Linked DNA regions of Homo sapiens: region 2 is linked to region 1. The links are contacts of gene promoters, found by promoter capture Hi-C in human tissues and cell types (Jung and others, 2019). All regions are on one chromosome and are shown on one strand. Each heading gives the region's core, a stretch centred on a gene start or on the middle of the fragment in contact. The rest is flanking DNA. Distances are from core to core; before and after follow the strand shown.

Region 1 (5,645 bases), core at 2,923-5,422:
CTTTCCAAATACAAGTAAATCTCTACAATTAATTTAAGCTCCGTCTGCACTGGGAGGAATTTTGTTTCCCATTGTGCAGCTCTTTAATGATGTATAAGGGTTGATGATGCTTAGCTTTAAATATCTAGGAAGAAGTAGGAACAACATGAAAGCTCAAAATTAAGAACAGAGACTGGACTCTGGTGTCCTGGCTTCTCTGATATCCCAGGGGCCTATTACACTTTGTCAGGCCCCTCAGCTCCCAGCAGATCAGGAACTTGAGATCTGGCTGTGGTAACCACCCTCAAGCTTGATAACTATTCATTGCGTCCGAGTACTTCTTATATTTCGAACTCATTAGATAGTAAAAATCTCAGAATCCTGATTTCAGATCTCATGAACTAATTCTACATCACCGCCTCAAATTACCCAGCCTGAAGACACAACGGGCTTGGTATGAAGATATAAAGTATGTTGCAAAGAGACTGAGGGCACTGTAGATATCTTGAACAAAAGGGTCAGACTAACCCGCAGCTGATAAGGAAAGGGCTCCAAACTTCTAGAACCTTCTTGTCAATTCTGCTTTAGGATTAGAACAAGTATGACTACCCACAACTCTGTTCCAACCCCACTTCCAATAATCTGGCCTAACTGTTGCCAGAATCTAGAGCGTTCTCGAAAACCACTCACTCAGCAGCTCCCTTGGCTAGTCCGACTGGCAATCTCGAACCACTGCGGCTGCTTCGGAGTGCCAACAGCGCCCAAGCAGTTGCCCTCTTCCTTGGTGCTTAACTTAAGAAAGAACAGTGCTGGGAAGGATAAAGATCACCCAGGAAGGACAGGGGAAGAGGAGTCTGACGTAGAGAACACGAGATAAGCCCCTCGCTCTTCCTTTTTTTCTCTGTCATCTTTGACTTCTGGGATAACCGGGGGCAACCAGGTCAATTATGGAGACACACAATCACTTCGAACCCAGACTAGTGATCGCTGGGGTATAATTACAAGGGAAAACGGGGTGAGGAGAGCAAAGGTTTTGGAGACGGAAAGTGCAGACAGGCAACAATGCACAGAAGTTAACAAGAGAACGCGGGGGTCGGGGGCGATGTAAGGAAGTCGTCATCGACGCCGCGCCGCTTCCCCCACCTCGCACCAGACCTCTGAAATTGCCCTCGGAGACTCGGCCTCTCCTATAAGGACGATCGTCCTCTCAGCTGGAGAACAAGGCCATGCCTCAGCTCCTACGCCAGGCGGAAGCGGGAGAGGAAGGCCGACCCCCAAGAGCGCCCCTTCAGGGGGTCCATCCGGCCTTGATCTCAGATGGGGGGGTGTTTGCGGAGGGCGGGGCATCGCCTCAACAGCTGGGGGCTGCATCATGGCAGGAACGAGTTTCCCTGAGCCACGGAGCTGCAGGTCGCCTCCTCTACTACCCTGCTACCCGGTTACCTCTTCGCCTCTTGGTCGTCGAGCAGCTCCGGCTCGGTCGCCGCCATTACCACATCGCACTCCGCGGCAGCCGCCATCTTACCGCCGGGACCAGAGAGCTGGGTGGGAGGCCGGCGGTGAAGAGCACTTCCGGTTGGAGCATAGAGCAGCTCCGCGGCGCCGCGCCCAGAAGGGCTCCCTCGGGCTCGTCTACCAGAGAGAGGCTCCGCTTGGGGCCAGAGCGGCCTCCCGCCCCCGGATGTCCACGGTGGTCTCCGCGCCGGGGCGGGAGCCCAGGGGCTGTGCCGGTGCGTAGGCGGCGCCACTTTACCCGTGGGTGGGAAGGCGGGGTGTACCGGTGGTAGCCTCTCTAGGGCTTGGCTGCTTTCAGTATTCCAAGAGCCTCATTGCCATAGCAACTTCCAATCCTAGAGAGTCTTCCTGAAAGGCTCCGTGGAGTCTGGGTTGCGTGGGGACCAGGTGACCCAAGACTCTGTAGGGAAGGAGTCCCCACTGCTACCTTTCCGACCTTGGAGTGTGTCCACAGCTTCTTCCCGGGAAAGTCAAGAGACACTTTGAGCTCAGTTCCCCCAGCTTTCATCGTTCTCTGGAAGCCCTGCCCAGTCAAGCCAGGGGAACGCAGGGCGTCTTCACCCTGCGCCTTTCATCCACTCCGGATCTCCAAACACCAACTGGTTCATCACCCTAATGACGCTGACCCTTTTACAAGGCTCCTTTCATGTCAGCCGCCTGGGAGTGCCATCTCAGCATTAAGCCTAGGAAAGCTGACACATGGCGCCCCAGACCCTGCCCTGGAGTTTATAAGGAAGCTCGCGGGGTGAGGTCCTTGCTCTTGTGTCCCCAGTACTCCCACCTCTTATATAAACTCTCTACTCATCACGCTTGCCTTGCCGAATGCGGTCTGGATTGAGAATTCATAGGGGACAAGGGCACAGTTTAACTGTCTTTGTTGTTATTCCCTCACCCAAACGACTATTTGTGGAGCTGAATTAAATTGGAGCTTTCTGGGGTTAAATTGGAGGAGTATGAGGAGTAGCTTTACAATGTAAAGCTAAGAGTAAAATAAGAAGAGGGCAAAGGAATTTTAAAAGGATTTACCTGTTTGTTCCAGGAAAACAGCATGTGCCAATGCTCATACTCTGCCTATCCCAGTGTGGAGGGAGCTGAAACCACAGCGACCACTGAGTAGGGAGGGATAGGACAAGCTCACTAGGTTGGAAAGGAGGGGTCATTCGTTGAGCCAATCACTCAGCCCTTTCCAAAACGCCTACTCTGTGCTAGGTTGTGAGGGCACAAGACTTACAGACCACCTGCCCTGCCTGCCAGTGGCTCATAGTCCAGTCTAATGCTAGCCAACCTGTCTCACCATCTTCCCACTTTATGTTCTATCTAAGGCAACTCATTTATTCCCACAGCTTTACTTCCATCTGTTGATGACTCTCAACTTTTCATATCTCCAACCTAGACCTTTCTTCAGCTTCCACAGCTGTATATCCAACTATCTACTGGATATCTCTTGTATGTTTCACAAATCCCCAAGGCTTACCATATTTAAATTTAACTTTTTCATTGTCTACCCACACCTCAACAACAGAAAAAACAAATGTTGGATGTAATTATTATCTTTCCTAAATTCCGTATCTTGTTAAATGGATTAAACCATTCTCACTCTTGGCTTCCAATTTGTTGCCAAGTTTTGTTGATTCTCCTACCAAATATTTCCCAAATCTATCTCCACCTTTCCATCCCGATTCAGGCGCTCATCATTTTTTAAAATCTTGGAATAGGCTGGGTGTGGTGGCATGCATCTGTAGTCCCAGCTATTTGGGAGGCTGAGGCAGGAGGATCACTTGAGCCCAGGAGTTAGAGGCTGCAGTGAGCTATGATCACACCAATGTACTCCAGCATGGAGAAAAGAGCAAGACCCTGTCTCAAAAACGGCAACAACAACAACAACAAAACAACAGAAAAAAAAACTTGGAATACATCAATAGTCTCCTAATCGGTCTCTAATTTCATCTCTGTTCAGTCTTCCCTCTTCTGCCAGAGTGACCTTCCTCAGGGACTGATCATGTCTCTTCATTGGCAATGGCTTTCCATTGCCGTCAATTTGATCTCTTTGGCCTACCACACAAAGCCTTTGATTATCTGTTTCTTTTTTTAAATAATTTAATTTGAGTACCAATATTTAGGTCCTTTCTACCACCAATATTGAACCCAAGTTCTCATAGTTTCAGAAAATGCCATGACTTGTAGCCGTTTCCTCCACCCTAGAACACCCTTTCCCCCAGGCCCTTCAGTGTCTGCTGACTCAACGTTAAATGCCCTTTTGCTGTGCTCCACAGCACCTCAGTAGTTGTTAGACATCTAGCTTCTCTAGACCGTGAGTTCTGATGGGCAGCCACCATGTCTAACTCGTCCACTTTCTCTCAGTATATGGCCCTGCACCAGGCACAGACAGATGATGCTCAGAAAACATTTGACGAATAAATGATTGAGTAAACGAAGAGTTACTGTACTCTGATCGCCTTTACAGAGAGAACATCTGGGCCTCAGAGACACCAGAACACCCAGCGGCCCGCGTCCAGGGAGTCTAGAACCTTGGGCTCCCGCGCACACCCAGGCCAGGTCCTGGCCGTCATTCTCCCGCCGGCCTCTGGGGGAGCTGCGCGGTCCGCGCTCTCTCTCCGCTGCCGGAATTCGTCTTGCCTGACGGAAGCTGGGGAGCGGGCAGGCGGCGGGGGCGGGGCCTGGAGGAGCCTACACCGACTCTGGAGGAAGACTGGAGCCTTTGCGGCGGCGCTGCCCCTCCCCTGGTCCCCGCGAGCTCGGAGGGCCCGGCTGGTGCTGCGGGGGCCCCGGGAGGTACGGACCTGGGAGGCGAGGCTCGTCCGGCGCTAGGATCGGCCTCCGCCTCCGGGCCGCTTTAGGTGGCTGGTCTCTGCCTCTCATTCCCTCTGGGGGCTCCCCCGTGAGAAAATCTGTGGCGGAGGCACCTCTGGCCCACTCTTATGGTGTCCTTTATTGTGGGGCTCGCTATATGGAGAGGGGGTCTGTGTCAGGAGCTTCCCCTGGAGAGGTTTCTGTTAGGGACCGTCTTTGGGAGTGATCTATCTCTGCTCTCTGGGGGGGATCTTTGTCTGGAGCTTTTGGGGGGCTTGTGTTTGGAAGTTTGCCTTCGGGGAGATATCTGTCTGGGACCTCTTAGGGTTTCTGTATCTGAGCTTTCTCTTTTGTGTCTGTCAGTCCAAGGGCAGCAAAAAGTATGTCCTTTCTGAAGCCTTTTTTTCCGTAGGTTTCTTCATTCTTTTCTCTCTTGTCTTATGTTCATTTTAGCCATAGACTTGACTGGAGTTTAGAGGGAATTGATTGTTGTCCAGATGAGTCGTACAGGAAAGCAGATTGTCTTTTTTTGAGACGGAGTCTTGCTCTGCCGCCCAGGCTGGAGTGCAGTGGCATATTCTTGGCTCACTGCAATCTCCGCCTCCTGGATTCAAGCGATTCTCCTGCCTCAGCCTCTCAAGTAGCTGGGATTACAGGCACCCGCCACCACGCCTGACTAATTTTTTGTATGTTTAGTAGAGATGAGGTTTCACTATGTTGGCCAGTCTGGTCTCGAACTCCTGACTTTGTGATCTGCCCACCTCGGCCTCCCGAAGTGCTGAGATTACAGGCGTGAGCCACCGTGCCCTGCCCCAGATTATCCTTTTTATTTGCTCAGTCCCCCCAGGGAGCAGATGGCTTCAGACAGCCACACAAAACACTGTTCCTGCTTAATTCTCCATGGGGTCATGGTTAAAGAGAGGAAGCTGGGCTGAGCTCCCTTTACTAATTGGTCCTCTACATCTTGCGCACAGAAGGGAACCTGGCCCAGTGGCCAGTGACTCTCCTCTCCCTTTATGGCAGCATTTCCAAGCACCTGCCCTGTGACAGATACTGGCTAGGTACTGGGGATAACAAAGACGAATAAAATAACAGCTTACCATCCAGTAGTAGACATGGAGACATCCGTTTCCTCTGACTAGCATTGGGATGGTGCTGAAACCCTGGAACTATACATTCAGTTTAGAACTATACATTCAGTTTAGAACTCTCAGTTATGGACGTTCTGCCTTCTGTTTTTTTGGTTTTTGTTTTTGTCCACCAGAAAACATCTGCTAGTAACTGCCTTCTGTGTTGATGCTTTCTTTCCTCACCTTACCCAGCGTGCTTCTGTTCTTCAA
Region 2 (6,094 bases), core at 1,574-4,073, 470 kb after region 1:
CTCGAGTATCTTACAGTTTATTAGGAGAGTTCCAACTATGGAGTTGGAAAAAGCTTTAAGCAGGTGGCATTTGATCAGGTCTTTGAAGAATGATAAGTTGTTGGTAAGACTGCTGAATGAAGAGAAGAAAACAAAGGCAGGAAGTATGGTTAGACCATGTATGTTTGGACAAGAACAGGATTTACAGTGGGTTAGCTGAAGAGAAGTACCTGTCTGCATCAGGTAGTTTGGAACTTAATTGTGAAAGGTTCTTAAATAATAGCTTAGAAGATTTAAATTTTATTCCAGAGGAAGTTGAGAGACATTGGAAGTTCTTTAGGGGTAAAGGAACATGATCAAAGCAGTTTGGGTGGTTTTTTACATTTTTAATTTTGTGTTTGAGACAAGATCTTGCTCTGTTACCCAGGCTGGAGTGCAGTGGTGCCATCTCAGCTCACTTCAGCTTCCAACTCCTGGGCTTAAGCAATCCTCCCACTTCAGACTCCCGGTAGCTGGGACTACAGGTGCCCACCATCATGCGTGGCTAATTTTTTGTAGAGACAGGGTTTTGCCATGTTGCCCAGGCTGATCTCAAATTCCTGGGCTCGAGTGATCTGCCTTCCTTGGCCTTCCAAAGTGTTGGGGCCAGGCGTGGTGACTCACTCTTGTAATCCAGCACTTTGGGAGGTTGAGGCGGGTCATCACTTGAGGTCAGGAGTTTGAGACCAGCCTGGCCAACATGACAAAACCCCGTCTCTACTAAAAATACAAAAAAGTTAGCCAGGTATGGTGGTGGGTGCCTGTGATCCCAGCTACTCAGGAGGCTGAGGCAGGAGAACCACTTGAACCCAGGAGGCAGAGGTTGCAGTGAGCTGAGATCATGCCACTGCACTCCAGCCTGGACAGCAGAGTGAGACTCTGTCTCAAAAAAAAAAAAAAAGTGGGTCACCACGCCTGGTGGATCAAAGCAGTTTTTTTGTTTTTTGGTTTTTTTTTTTTTGAGATGGAGTTTTGCTCTTGTTGCCCAGGCTGGAGTGCAGTGGCATGATCTCGGCTCACTGCAACCTCCACCCTCCACCTCCCTGCTTCAAGTGATTCTCCTGCCTCAGCCTCCTGAGTAGCTGGGATTACAGGTGTGCGCCACCACACCCAGCTAATTTTTTGTATTTTTAGTGGAGACGGGGTTTCATCACGTTGACCAAGCTGGTGTCGAACTCCTGACCTCAGGTGATCCACCCGCCTCAGCCTCCCAAAGTGCAGGGATTACAGGCATGAGCCACTTCTCCTGGCTCAAAGCAGTTTTAAAAGAGTAATCTGCTGATAGTATCTAGGTTGGATTGAGGAGTGAAGAGATTCTGTAGGTAGGGGTTCAGTTAGGAGGTTATTGTAGACATAGAGTAGTAAATGATAAGGATCCCCAGGTAGGACTTGACAATGGGAAAAAAAATGATGAATTGTGAGATGTTCTGCAGGAAAAATCAATAGGGCTACCTGGTTCCTAGCAAGGTGCAGGAGAAATACAAGGAGAAAGATTTAAACATCTTTTTGAGGCATCAAAGCTGACTGGCCAGGAGAATTAGGGTTCCAATGAGGGAAGTAAATGTTCAGCCAGAGAAGCTTATTGATTGGGGAGAGATGGTAAGTTCAGTTCCGGGCACATTGAGGTCTATGTGGAAATGTCAAGCAGACAAGGGAACAAAGCTAAGGAAATGGGAGTCATGAGAATGGAAGGGAATGAGACCTCCAAGAGGGAGGTCATAGAGAGAAAAAAAAGGTTGGGGTCTTGCAATGCTATGAGATAGGCAGAGCAGAAATAACCAGCAAAGATAGAAAAGCAATGGTCAGCGAGCAGGAGGAGAACTCCTAAGGAAGAAGGATTTTCACCAAAGATCTCCAATGTCAGGGGCGTGCATGGGGGAGAGAAGCTCTTTGGTCAGGAGCCAGTCACTTTGCCTAAGCATGCTCAGCCAGACTGCAAGGGATCAGGAAGTTAAGAGAAGGTAGTGAAGAAGGAGAGCCAGAGAACATACTTTGCTTTCTCCATGAAAGGGGGAGAACAACTTTCATAAAAAGGCAGATATGGAGGCAGTTCCACATTTTCTTTGGTGACATATTTTAAAGTTAAATTTTTTTCACATTAAGGATGTATTTCAGAGGATCTAATAGAAATCTTCCATTATAAATGTTATACCTTTTCCCAGTTTTCCCAAAAGCTGGGAAAGATAATCTAGTTTTATTTTTAGGTTTATTAGTTTTATTGAGATATAATTTACATGAAAGAAAATACATACATTTTATGTGTACCATTTGATGAGTTTCAAGAAATGTACACCTGTGTAACCACTACCACAATTAGGAGGATAACCTAAGTTTGATAAATGTGCTAATGTTTTTCAGGAACACAGTGGTTCCACTGTACCTTCCATTTTGAACAGGATGCAGACAAACCAGACTCCCCCAACCTATAACAAAACCAACAAGTTTACCTATGGCTTTCAGAACATAGTAGATGCTTATGGAATTGGAACTTACCGAGAGATAAATCCAGGTAAAAAAAAGCTTGTTATCTTTTTCCTCTAGAGTTTTTTTTGTTTGTTTGGTTGGTTTGGTTTGTTTTGAGACAGAGTCTCCCTCTGTCACCCAGGCTGGAGTGCAGCAGCACGACTGTAGTTCACTGCAGCCTCAAACTCCTGGCCTCAAGAGATCCTCCCAACTCAGTCTCCTGTATAGCTAGGACCACAGGCGCACAGCACCACACCTGGCTAATTTTTTATTTTATGATTTTTTTTTGACTGGGTCTCATTCTGTTGCCTAGGCTGTAGTGCAATGGTGAAATCACGGCTTACAGCAGCCTCAACCTCGTGGGCTCAAGTGATTCTCCCGCCTGAACCTCTGGAGTAGCTGGGACTACAGGCATGTGTCACCATGCCTGGCTAATTTTTAAAATTTTTTTAGAGATGGGTTTTGCTATGTTGCCCAGGCTGATAATTTTTAATTTTTTTTAGAGACGGGGTCTTGTTATGTTGCCCAAGCTAGTCTTGGACTCCTGGGCTCAAGGAAGCCTCCTGCTTCAGCCTCCCAAAGTGCTGGGATTACAGGTGTGACCCACTATGCCTGGCCTTTTTGTTCATTGTTTCTTCTAATGCCTCACTTTAAATGCTGTTGAATAACTGAATTAAAATTAAAGATGTTAATCCTAGCACTGTTTTTTTAATTTAATTTTATTTTTAATTTTTTTTGAGACGGAGTCTCGCTGTGTCACCCATGCTGGAGTGCAGTGGCGTGATCTTGGCTCACCGCAAGCTCTGCCTCCCAGGTTCACGCCATTCTTCTGCCTCAGCCTCCCGAATAGCTGGGACTACAGGCACCCGCCACCATGCCCGGCTAATTTTTTTTTTATTTTTTTTAGGTGAGACAGAGATTTACTCTCGTTGCCCAGGCTGGAGTGCAATGGCACGATCTCAGCTCACCACATCCTCTGCCTCCCAGGTTCAAGCGATTCTCCTGCCTCAGCCTCCCGAGTAGCTGGGATTATAGGCATGTGCCATCACGCCCGGCTAATTTTGTATTTTTAGTCGAGACGGGGTTTCACCATGTTGCCCAGGCTGATCTCTAACTCCTGACTTCAGGTGATCTGCCTGCCTCTGCCTCCCCAAGTGCTGGGATTACAGACGTGAGCCACTGCGCCCGGCCATTTTTTTGTATTTTTAGTAGAGACAGGGTTTCACTGTGTTAGCCAGGATGGTCTCGATCTCCTGACCTCATGATCCACCCGCCTTGGCCTCCCAAAGTGCTGGGATTACAAAGTGCTGGGTGGCGTGAGCCACTGCGCCCAGCCAATCCTAGCACTTTTAGAGGCCGAGGTAGGAGGATTGCTTAAGCCCAGGATTTCAAGATCAGCCTGGGCAACATAGTGAGACCCCATCTCTATTAAAAAATAAATAAACATGTTGACACCTCAGATCTTGTGTACTCCCTGTGAAGAGGTGCTCATTCTGGCAGGGCATGGTGGCTCACGCCTGTAATCCCAGCACTTTGGGAGGCTGAGGCATGTGGATCACATGAGGTCAGGAGTTTGAGACCAGCCTGGCCAACATGGTGAAACCCTGCCTCTACTAAAAATACAAAAATTAGCCGGATTTGGTGGCATGCACCTGTAGTCCCAGCTACTCGGGAGGCTGAGGCCTGAGAATCACTTGAACCCAGGAGGCAAAGGTTGCAGTGAACCGACATCATGCCACTGCACTCCAGCTTGGGCAACAACAAAAAGATGCCCATTTAATGTAAGGGGCAGGTTTACTGTCAGGTAGCGTTCCTTTAAGAGTTCATCGGCTGGGCCAGGTGTGGTGGCTCACGCCTGTAATCCCAGCACTTTGGGAGGCCGAGGCAGGTGGATCACCTGAGGTCAGGAGTTCGAGACCAGCCTGACCAACATGGAGAAACCCCGTCTCTACTAAAAATACAAAATCAGCCAGGCATGGTGGCTCTTGCCTGTAATCTCAGCGACTCGGGAGGCTGAGGCAGGAGAATCACTTGAACCGGGGAGACGGAGGTTGCCGTGAGCCGATATTGCATTATTGCACTCCAGCCTGGGCAAAAAGAGTGAAACTCTGTCTCAAAAAAAAAAAAAAAAAAAAGTTCATCGGCTGGGCGTGGTGGTTCATGCCTGTAATCCCAGCACTTTGTGGGGACAAGGTGGAAGGATCACTTAAGGTCAGGAGTTCGAGACCAGCCTGGCCAACATGGTGAAACCCTATCTCTACTAAAAATACAAGAAAATTAGCCAGGCCTGGTGGTGCATGCCTGTAATCCCAGCTACTCAGGAGGCCTAGACAGGAGAATTGCTTGAACCCAAGAGACAGAAGTTATAGTGAGCCTAAATTGTGCCACTGCACTCCAGCCTGAGTGACAGAGCAAGACTCTGTCTCAAAAAAAAAGTTCATGAGACTGGATTCTTTCATGTGCCCTCACAGCCCTAAAACACCTGGACTTCTCTAGCAAATCATTTGCAGGAACTGTTTTAAGCAAAATGTTTCTTCTAAGATGTCTGATATTTTTAAATGGCTTTTTTTTTGGCTTCCCTGTTCCAAGGTTAGACAGAAAAAATGTAGCAAGTATTGGCCACTTTAGGTACAACACAGATTTCTCCTATATTTGGAGAGTTAATTATTAAATCAAGAGTGTGAGTATTCATTTTCAGTTGGAGCCCTATGGAAGAACTGCTTTGCTCTGGGCTCTCTCCATCTGTACGTTATCTGATATTTAGCTTTATATCACTGGGACATGGTTGCTGCACAAAGAGAAGACAGCTGGCCTGCCCTGGGAGCAGGGTCCCACGAGTTACAAGAGAGTCAGAGAACAAACCAATGTTGTCAAGGTTACACCTTCATTTCCACTGTTCTTTGTTTGAAATGTTATCAGAGCTGCCAGGCACAGTGCCTCATGCCTGTAATCTCGGATATTCAGGAGGCTGAGGTGGGAGGATTGCTCAAGGCCACAAGTTCAGGACTAGCTTGGGCAAAATAGTGAGATTCCATCTAAAAAAATATTATTTATCAGTAATTTTAAAACAAAATTAACTGGGCATGGTGGCACATACTTGTAGTTCCAACTGTTTGGGAGGCTGAGGTGGGAGGATAACTTGAGTCCAGGGGTTGCAGGCTGCAGTGAGCTGTGATGAAACCACTGCACTCCAGCCTGGGTGGCAGAGAAAGACCCCATCTCTCTTTTAAAAAAAGTTATCAGTAGCTCAAATTTCATTAGCTACTTTGTGAAGATGTGTTGATTCTGCCATGAAAGATTTTCTCTGAGAGTCCTATCTGTCTGGCAGCTGGGGAGTAAGTCACCTTATATTGATCTTAAGATTATGGAAGCCTGGGCACGGTGGCTCACGCCTGTAATGCCAGCACTTTGGGAGGCCGAGGCAGGTGGATCACTTGAGGTCAGAGTCGGAGACCAGCCTGGGCAACATGGTGAAACCCTGTCTCTACTAAAAATACAAAACTTAGCTAGGCATGGTGGTGGGCACCTGTAATCCCAGCTACTCAAGAGGCTGAGGCAGGAGAATCACTTGAACCTGGGAGATGGAGGTTGCAGTGAGCCAAGATTGAGACAT

The links. The method cuts DNA at HindIII sites, captures the fragments that hold promoters and counts their contacts. A contact is called where the count stands out against the background at its distance.
Region 2: a fragment that was not itself captured here is called in contact with the fragment with the promoter of NKIRAS2 in region 1 in 2 of the 25 tissues and cell types used here (lymphoblastoid cells and spleen).

What each region holds. Positions count from the first base shown.
Region 1 is chr17:42,015,918-42,021,562 of GRCh38, forward strand. It overlaps NKIRAS2 (NFKB inhibitor interacting Ras like 2), which reads left to right and starts at 4,173. Exons shown (of 4, transcript NM_017595.6): 1 at 4,173-4,287. DNAJC7 (DnaJ heat shock protein family (Hsp40) member C7) reads right to left here and starts at 1,522. Exons shown (of 14, transcript NM_003315.4): 1 at 1,423-1,522. The coding sequence starts at 1,499. RefSeq lists enhancers at 731-1,930, 1,041-1,090, 1,161-1,570 and silencers at 1,681-1,830, 4,057-4,466. The HindIII fragment of the contact is 10,906 bases long and covers 1-5,645 here.
Region 2 is chr17:42,488,111-42,494,204 of GRCh38, forward strand. It overlaps ATP6V0A1 (ATPase H+ transporting V0 subunit a1), which reads left to right. Exons shown (of 22, transcript NM_001130021.3): 11 at 2,377-2,527. Among named protein-coding and RNA genes, the nearest start is that of MIR548AT, 3.6 kb to the right of the region's middle. The HindIII fragment of the contact is 3,999 bases long and covers 825-4,823 here.